Regions from separate parts of the Homo sapiens genome. Here region 2 is linked to region 1. The links are contacts of gene promoters, found by promoter capture Hi-C in blood cells and fetal thymus (Javierre and others, 2016). All regions are on one chromosome and are shown on one strand. Each heading gives the region's core, a stretch centred on a gene start or on the middle of the fragment in contact. The rest is flanking DNA. Distances are from core to core; before and after follow the strand shown. Region 1 holds the start of PTX3 (pentraxin 3). Region 2 overlaps VEPH1 (ventricular zone expressed PH domain containing 1).

Evidence for each region. Contacts are between HindIII fragments. The CHiCAGO score rates a contact against its expected background, and 5 or more counts as called.
Region 2: a contact is called between a fragment that was not itself captured here and the fragment with the promoter of PTX3 in region 1, in 1 of 17 cell types (endothelial precursors). The highest score is 5.8, in endothelial precursors.

Annotation. Positions count from the first base shown.
Region 1 is chr3:157,433,629-157,438,174 of GRCh38, forward strand. PTX3 (pentraxin 3) reads left to right here and starts at 3,222. Exons shown (of 3, transcript NM_002852.4): 1 at 3,222-3,435; 2 at 3,885-4,286. The coding sequence starts at 3,306. All of the region lies in intron 4 of VEPH1 (ventricular zone expressed PH domain containing 1), which reads right to left. The HindIII fragment of the contact is 2,433 bases long and covers 1,946-4,378 here.
Region 2 is chr3:157,262,264-157,266,960 of GRCh38, forward strand. VEPH1 (ventricular zone expressed PH domain containing 1) reads right to left here. Exons shown (of 14, transcript NM_001167912.2): 13 at 3,263-3,399. The region is part of intron 3 of LOC101928236 (a long non-coding RNA gene); the gene reads left to right. Among named protein-coding and RNA genes, the nearest start is that of CCNL1, 100 kb to the left of the region's middle. The HindIII fragment of the contact is 742 bases long and covers 3,053-3,794 here.

The DNA.
Region 1 (4,546 bases), core at 1,972-4,471:
TAATACTTTATTTAGAGCTGTTGCATCAACATTCTTAATGAGAGAGATTGCAGTTTTCCTTTCTTGTATTGTCCTTTTCTCTTTTTGGTATCATACTTAGTAGACATGTAAAATGAATTTAGCACATTCCTGAACACTCTATTCTCAGAAGCAGTTTGTACAAAACGGGGATTATGTGTTCCTTGAATGTTTGGTAGAACTTGTCCATCAAACCATCTGGGCAGTACTCTATATACTTCATTATATCAAGCTTTAAGTTATGTAGTTTAAGTTTCTGTATCCTTTGGCAGGCTTTTTTTTCGCATTTGAATGATCAGTTATGATATATGTGAACTTATCAGCTTTGTTAAAATCTCCCTCCATGATTATGGATTTGCCCATTTCTCCTTATAATTCTGTCAACCTTTGGTTTATATTTTTTGAAACTATATTACTAGATAATTCAGAGATATCTTCCTGTTAAAGTATTTCTTTGTATCATAATTTAACTATCCTCTTTTGCCTAAGTCTATTTTTTACTGATATTACTACTGCTATGCTAGCTTTTTTGAATAATACTTGCTTGGTGTGTTCTCTTCCTCCCCTCCAATTTAAAGCTTTTAACTTTTAACATTTCTACTTTATGTTTTATGCATAGCTTTTGTAAGTGATGTATAGCTGGATTTTTAAAATATTTCTTCTCTCTCTCTCTCCTTTTCTTTTTTTCAGGGTCTCTTTCTGTCGCCCAGGCTGGAACGCAGTGGTGTGATCACAGCTCACTGCAGCCTCCACTTCCCAGGCTCAAGTGATCCTCCTGCCTCAGCCTCCTGAGTAGCTGAGACTACAGGTGCATATCACCACACCAGATTAATTTTTAAATTTTTTGTGCAGATGAGGGTCTTGCTATGTTGATCAGGCTGGTCTCAAACTCCTGGCTTCAAGTGATCCTCCTACTTTGGCCTCCCAAAGTACTGGGATTCTGAACGTGAGCCCCGACTAAAATATTTCTATATGACAAATAGAAATATTTGTCTCTTAACTGGAAAATGTGTTTCATTAATATTTATGGTAATTATTGGTATATTTTGATTTAATTTTAGCAAATAATATTGTACTTTTAACTTATCCTTCTCTGTGCTTTTCTTTCCTCCTTCATTAATTTTTTTTTCATAGATCAAGTCTTTCTTTAAAAATTCCCCCTGCACCTTCTATTCGGATGCCTATGTCCATTTGGTAGTTGTCCTTAAACTTATAACAAATATTTTTGAGCAAAGCAAAATTAATTAATTTCTTTTTCGTCCTCCTGAACAATGAAATGATTTTAGAATCCTATTACTGAACATAAAAGCAGCACATTTTAGATTATTTCCTTATATCTGTCTTCCAGTTCATTAATATTCTTTTCAGCTTTGCCTAATTTGCCACTTAATCCATGCCTTGAGCTTTTAAAATTTTCAATTAACTTTTTTTTTTAATTCTAGAAGTTTTATTTGGTTCTTTAAAAAAAATCACCTAGCCTTTTTCTTTTTGACAATGTCTTATTCTTTTCTCATATTTCCAATTCCTTCTTTTAGAGCTTCAGTAGTTTTAAACATATTTATTTTCTAGTTTTTTGGCTGATATTTCAACTAAATGCAGTTCTTGGGGAGAGGTGTCTAATCCTTTTTGGTTTCTGCTGATTCTCATTTATAGTGGTTTGCTTCCTCATATGTTCAAATATCATTGTGAATTCTTTTTTGTTTTCACAGTGGCAGATAGTATATATTTGAATTCTAAACATATCTGAGGGCAGGCCCAATTTCACAAACTCAAAGGGACCTTGTAGAGTTCAAAGAGAGACATGATTGCTTCCTACCTCTTTGTGCTAGGGCAGAGTGGGATTGTACCTACTGAAATACAGTAGGTAACCCTGTGAGGGTCCTGGCTTTCATGAGGATCTCCCTTCTAACTCTCCACCTTTGGCCTAAGCTTTGCTTCCACATGGTCATCAACATTTGGTGGTTATAGAACTAATAACCCCTATCTCACTTCACTCCTATGCCAGAGGGGCCCTAGCATCAGCTCATGGGATTGTTGTTTTTGCTTTCCTCTCTATCTTTGGCTCCGGGATTTTCCCCTTACTTTAATGGGAGCTCATCTGTACCTTTTAAGTTTTTATTAATATCATGTGAACACAGACCTGTATATATTGTTAGAAGCAGAAATCTCTAAGTTTACTTTTAAAACATGATCCTTGCCTCGAAACCTTGTAGAATAATATAATGTCCACATAATACCAAGTTATGAAAAGAAACATACCTAAATAACTAAATAAGTATATTCCTTTTTTCCCCCAGCTTTTTTTCCCCATTCTAGGTTTACCCAGTTGTACTGTGTTGTTTGTCATAGGCCGGGTGAGGTGGCTCACGTCTGTAATCCTAGCAATTTGGGAGGCGAAGGCGGGTGGATCGCCTGAGGTCAGGAGTTCGAGACCAGCCTGGCTAACATGGTGAAACCCTGTCTCTACTAAAAATACAAAAATTAACTGGGTGTGGTGGCGGGTGCCTGTAATTCCAGCTACTTGGGAAGCTGAGGTAGGAGAATCGCTTGAACCCAGGATGCGGAGGTTGCAGTGAGCCGAGATCACACCATTGCACTCCAGCCTGGGCAACAAGAGCGAAATTCAGTCTCAAAAAAAAAAATTATCTATAAAAGTATAGGTGCAACTCCTCAAGTATTAAAGACAAGATAGCTCGGATTGGACTTGACTTTCAGAGCCATAACTATTCTTAATATGTTGGTTTATCTTGGAATCAGACCATTTTCAGTTTCAACCTGTAAAACAGTGTACAAAGGAAACATGGAAAGTTTTCTATATATAAAGGGTTGTGAAATAATAACAGCTCACAGAAAATGCTGAAATGATGATTTGCTTCAGTACCCTCTGAAATTTCTCCCCTACCACCCCTCCTTCATCCCCATTGCTATCAATTCAAATTACAACAGCTAATTCTCAGGAGAACAGTAGAAGCCCAGTTTCTCTCCTCTTTCCCCTCTGACCCTCCTCCAATTAATCTGACTGCAGCGTAAACCTTTGCGGTTTAATATTGTGCAACTTCCACATTTCCCTCGCTCTCCCACCCAGCCCCCTCCCCCACCAAATTCAGGGGAACTCCCGTTACCGCAGTGCCACCAGCATTACTCATTCATCCCCATTCAGGCTTTCCTCAGCATTTATTAAGGACTCTCTGCTCCAGCCTCTCACTCTCACTCTCCTCCGCTCAAACTCAGCTCACTTGAGAGTCTCCTCCCGCCAGCTGTGGAAAGAACTTTGCGTCTCTCCAGCAATGCATCTCCTTGCGATTCTGTTTTGTGCTCTCTGGTCTGCAGTGTTGGCCGAGAACTCGGATGATTATGATCTCATGTATGTGAATTTGGACAACGAAATAGACAATGGACTCCATCCCACTGAGGACCGTAAGTTCACTTTAACTGTTTCTCTGCTAACCCTGACTACATATCCACCTCTTGGTCTAAATAACACACATATACTTTGTGGCCAGTGAGACAAGTTAAAAATTTATAGCTTGTTATGCAAAAGTGAGAAGCACTTGAAGAAAGATGGAGGTTTCAAAGTTATTTCTGTAACGTACATAATGGGTTGAATCATATCAAATCGTCAATATTTGACTGTTTTGAGCTACATAACCGGCGATTTCATAGGGTACAACTTAATCTATACCTGAATGAATGATTTCTGTCGTTTCTGAGACATTTACATGCTGTTTTTCGGAGGTGTCCTTAAAGGGAAGGGGAATGCCAGGAACGGGCTGCAACTTGGCACCACCGAGGGAGGTCAGCTTTTACAAAGCACATCCAAGGCAGGCCTGGGCGGGCTGCTAACGTGTGTGTATCCCGTACTCTAGCCACGCCGTGCGCCTGCGGTCAGGAGCACTCGGAATGGGACAAGCTCTTCATCATGCTGGAGAACTCGCAGATGAGAGAGCGCATGCTGCTGCAAGCCACGGACGACGTCCTGCGGGGCGAGCTGCAGAGGCTGCGGGAGGAGCTGGGCCGGCTCGCGGAAAGCCTGGCGAGGCCGTGCGCGCCGGGGGCTCCCGCAGAGGCCAGGCTGACCAGTGCTCTGGACGAGCTGCTGCAGGCGACCCGCGACGCGGGCCGCAGGCTGGCGCGTATGGAGGGCGCGGAGGCGCAGCGCCCAGAGGAGGCGGGGCGCGCCCTGGCCGCGGTGCTAGAGGAGCTGCGGCAGACGCGAGCCGACCTGCACGCGGTGCAGGGCTGGGCTGCCCGGAGCTGGCTGCCGGCAGGTAAGGAGGCAAGCGGGGCCGGGACCTCCCACTGCGGCTTTGTTCCGGGAGCGCGCGTAACGGCAAGCCAAGCCAGGCAACCTTCTAGGGGAAGCTTTCATGGGAAGCGCGCGCGCGCGCGCGCACACACACACACACACACACACACACACACACACCCCTATTTCTGCATGCGCGGTCACAGAGCTCAGGCACACCATACAAGGCGGGAAAATTGGCTTTAAAAAAGTATTCCTCAGTCCTAAGGAGCCCTAAAGAGA
Region 2 (4,697 bases), core at 2,174-4,673, 170 kb before region 1:
CACTCCTCATCTATTTCATTATGAGATACATTTTCAATAATATTTCAATTTTTAATGTTTAATAATTATTAAGCTTGGCATTATACTTATGGATTTTCATGAAGGATATAACTTTTTAAAAAGATAACTAAATCAGAAAAAATAACACTTGGAGACGGATGGTCACAAGGAATTTAAACAATTAAATTTCAATTTATACATATAGTTTTACTCAGTGAAAAATGAAATGCCATTCAGGATAAAATGCTGTGATAGAGGTAGAACAGAAACATGATTTAAAAAAAAAAAGAGAAACAATGTGAACACTTCTATTTAAAAAAGAGTTAATTTATGTATTAAAAATAGTGTTAGGTGTTAAACTGCTATGGTATTTTAATCCAATGGTTACATTTAATGGAGAGATGTAATCCTTTTGTTTTAAAATGTCAATATTTACAATTCAACAGAAATTACAGTCCGGGCAAATGTTTAAACTTATGATAAAAGTGTTGCTGCAACTTAAAATGCTGCAAGGTATTACATAGATTTTTCAAAATTCTTTTAGGGTACACAGGATAAAGTTTGAAGACATACACACTAGACAATACTTTGTTAGCCTAATTTGGTTTACAGTAAGTATCTGACAGTAATAAAATTGCATTTCTTTGAAGTAGTCTATAGTACAGAGATTGATACGAAAATAAAAAGTTACCATAGTAATTTAAAGATGGACAGTGAATCAACTGAGACAGGAATAGATAGAAAGTCAAAGGACACTATTGCCTAGCTAGTTTGTGGAGATCAAGGTCTTAAAAATGCAAAAGTGAAAGATTAGAGTCTTCCACTAGAGTCTTTCAACCTCAGCTCTAATTTTAAAATGCACATTTCTTTCATTTAAAAGGGGCCCTTTTACAAGGACCTGAAGCTTCAGCAGGATTGTTGACCACTGGTAGGTTATTGTTTCCCTGGAGATTAGAGGTATTTTGCTGTGGCCTTCATGCTATATTAAATTATTTCCCACTATTTGAGCCGCAAGTTTTGTCAGAGTTATGGAATGTCAGACCATTATTTCCTGATAAACATGTCAAACAAGTTACCTAATTATAAAATTGCTTTTTCTTTAAACCTTATTAAAAAAGCCATGAATCAGAAAGTATAAAGGTCATTATTTGAGTTCAGAAAAACATTCTCATAGATTAACTCTGCTTTGTCTTAAGGGATCTGGAAAATTACTACGTCTTCATTTCTATTCTTGATTTCTTGAATAAAAACAGAAAATTCAGGTAGTCATTTTAAACACTTTAAACATGCTTTAGTGTGAACCTATGCTAAAAAAATTTCTTTAAGTTTCCAATAGCTGTCTAAATTGAACTGCCCTTTCAAAAAGATGTTCAGCTACAGAAAAGTCCATCTGTATATGTTATAACACACACAGATGAAGAAAGTAGCATGACTACACAGTAGGTATCACAAAAAATATTCTTTTTCATTCAAAAAGTTAACAGAAGTCTTATTAATTAAAAGAGCACTGGTCAGAATACACGATACTTGATTCATACTGATTAAAATGTTCAAATACATTTTATAATGAGTACTCTAAAGATATAGTGCATATGGCCGAGAATGAATTATAATTTTTAACTAATTTACCACTTTTCATTAATTAATTCAGACAGTTTGGTTTATGTGATGGTTAATTTATGTGTCAACTTGACTGGGCTAATGGGTACCCAGACAGCTGGGAAAGCATTATTTCCGCATGTGTCTGTGAGGTGTTTCTGGAAGAGGCTGGCATTTGAATTAGTGGACTGAGTGAAGAAGATCCATGCTCCCCATTGTGGGTGGGCATCATGCAATCTATTGGGGACCTGGATAGAATAACAAGTTGGAGGAAAGATAAATTTGCTTTTTCTTCTTGCACTGAGACATGCATTCTCTCCTGCCTGTGGATATCAGAGCTCCTGGTTTTGGGGCCTTCAGACTCTGGGACTTACATCCCTCCCCCCAGCTCACTGCCATACCCAGGTTCTCAGGCCTTTGGCCTTGGACTGGGAGTTATATCATTGACTCCCTTAATTTTCTGGCCTTAGGACACAGACTGAATTACACCACCAGTTTTCCTGGTTCTCCAGCTTGCACACAGCATATCATGGAACTTCACACCCTCCATAATTTCATGAGCCAATTCCCATAGTAAATCTCGTATATGTCTTTATATATCCTATTGGTTCCATTTCTATGGAGATCCCTGGTGAGTACAGTTTACCACTGACTCTGTATTTTAAGTATACATGGGAAGCAGTAAACTCATTTAAGAACATGCTTTGGTGTAACACTGCCTGATCTTGACCCCAGTTATACCCTTTCTCACCTTATTAGCTTTATCCTTGGACAATCCAATCAGTTTCTTTGACTCAGTTTCCTCATCTGTGAAATGGCAATAATAGCAGTGGTGGCCTAATAGGATTGTTTTGAGGATTGTTTGAGGCAATCCAAGGTGTTGCATAGTAGGCACTGAAAAAATGCTAGTCATTATGATTATTTTCTAAAATAGCCAAGAAGTAGGTCAAGATTTGATTCCTCTTGATCCTGAATCAGGAGAGTTTAATGATACATAAAACCAATTTGAAAAGAAGAGAAGGTAACTTTGCATTATTGATTGCAATGGAATGCTACTTCAGAGGTTTCCCACTGAAAATTCACAATACAAATAATTACTGAACATCCTATTCAAATGGAAAATTATATTAAATATTTATTAATTTGATCATAATTCTATTATATTCATTAACTGAATATTAAATAGATGAAAGACAGTAATATTTTAATCAGAATTAAACTTTGTTGACTATAAAAAGTACCTAAAGTAAATCAGCCTTCATTCTTTCCTCCTTGTCTATGTCCTCCTTTTTTGGACCCCCATTTCCAAATATAAACTATAGCTATAAAAAAATCAGAGCCAATATCATAAGTCATAAATTTGTGTACGTGGTCCACAAGGAAACAAAGGGCACGGTGTCTGAGTCAAGACTTGCAGTCCCTCTGCAGTTCAACTAAAAAGTCAACTAAAACAAGCTTCCATAATAAACTGGAAGGGGACAGTGAATCAACTAACATAGGAATAAACAGACTAGACACAGAAATGTGTGATAAAACAATGCTGTAAGATGGTGAAATGGAGATGGAAAAATTATTAGAGTTTAAACCCAAGACAAAACGTTTAGCTATTGGTGGAGATCAAAACCTTAAAAATGCAAGTGTAAAAGATGATGGAGGAACTTACAGACTTTCCTTTTTGAAACAGAAGTTGATTTCCAGCCAGTGTAAAATAGCGTGTTTTCCACCTTTTGATGAACTTCCATCTGACTTGCTTCTCTTTAAGTTTTCCTTCTATGAGAGGCTGGCCATCTTGATTTACAACTGTTGAAGGTAGCAGAATAATCATGCCATGTATTTTCCAATATTTACTAGGTAGGTGATCAAAAGTCAGAACTGTACAGTGTACCAGAACCCAGTTAGCACACCTGGAAAGTAGGCTAATAAATGATGAATTTGGTTAACCTTTCCTCCTTTGTCCCTAAAAGAATGCACAATTCAGATATGACAATGGAAAACTGTTGAAAGCCCTCATTGCCATTTTCAAAAGAAATTGGTTCACACAAAGAGCATCTGTTAGCAGTATTTAAAGTTTATCTGGATATTTAGCTTTCTGTGCTTGGTTTCTTTGTTTCATAGTGTTCTGTTTCTAATGTTGGAATAACCAAATTAATTTGGAACAGTTTGAAATGTTGGCACAAAGTATCTAGTATGCCATAAGCTTCATTTTGATTTTGCCAGTAACTAGGTAATAAAAAACAAATTTCCATGCTTTATGACACATGAACTGCTGGAAATATAGCTTTATAAATAATCATAAACCCAAGTATATTTAGCTATTTGGCAGCAAAAGTCAATGCAGCACTCCAAAAGACATGGTTCCTAAAGCGGTAACACCAAGCAGCAAAGGCAAACTTACCCAACTCTTGTACATGCTAGTCTCACTCTCTGGAACACATGTACTCTCTTTCCCCTCTCTGTATTCCCATCTTCACCTAGTCAACAACTGATCACTTCACATTTCAACTTAAATGTTGCTTCCTTTGGAAAGCCCTCTCCAAATCCAGATGAGGGTGGCTTTCCCCCATATGTTCTCATGGCACATGGCATGTTTCTTATATATCAGGGATTATCATTTGTAGATAGATATTAGTGCTTATCTGATTAATATCTTTCTGTCTCATTCAGTTGAAAGCTCCACAAGGGCAGGGTCTTTGCTTTGTTCTCTGTTGAATCACCAAGCATCTAACATGGTGCCTGGCAAATAGTAGGAAGTCTATAAATATTTGTTGACTGAATGGACTAATTTTACATTGAAGCAGAGTGTGCATGATTACAAATGATCATAGAATTAGAAGATCCATTGCAATGTCAGAGTTTAGACGCTGAACTGAATAATTTTATTCCTTTTACCAACAACATAAGATTCACTCTTCAAATTCAGATGAAAGCATCTGATTTCAGCAGAAGGGGACAATGGAAAGCTCCATCTGTAGTAGGACAATGTTTATTTATATATATTTATCTTCAATTTTCATAGCACCTTGAAAGTAATAAAATTTGTTCCATCAGTTTGGAAAAATTCTGGACTGTGCCTGTTTGACCCTATGAACACAACCTGC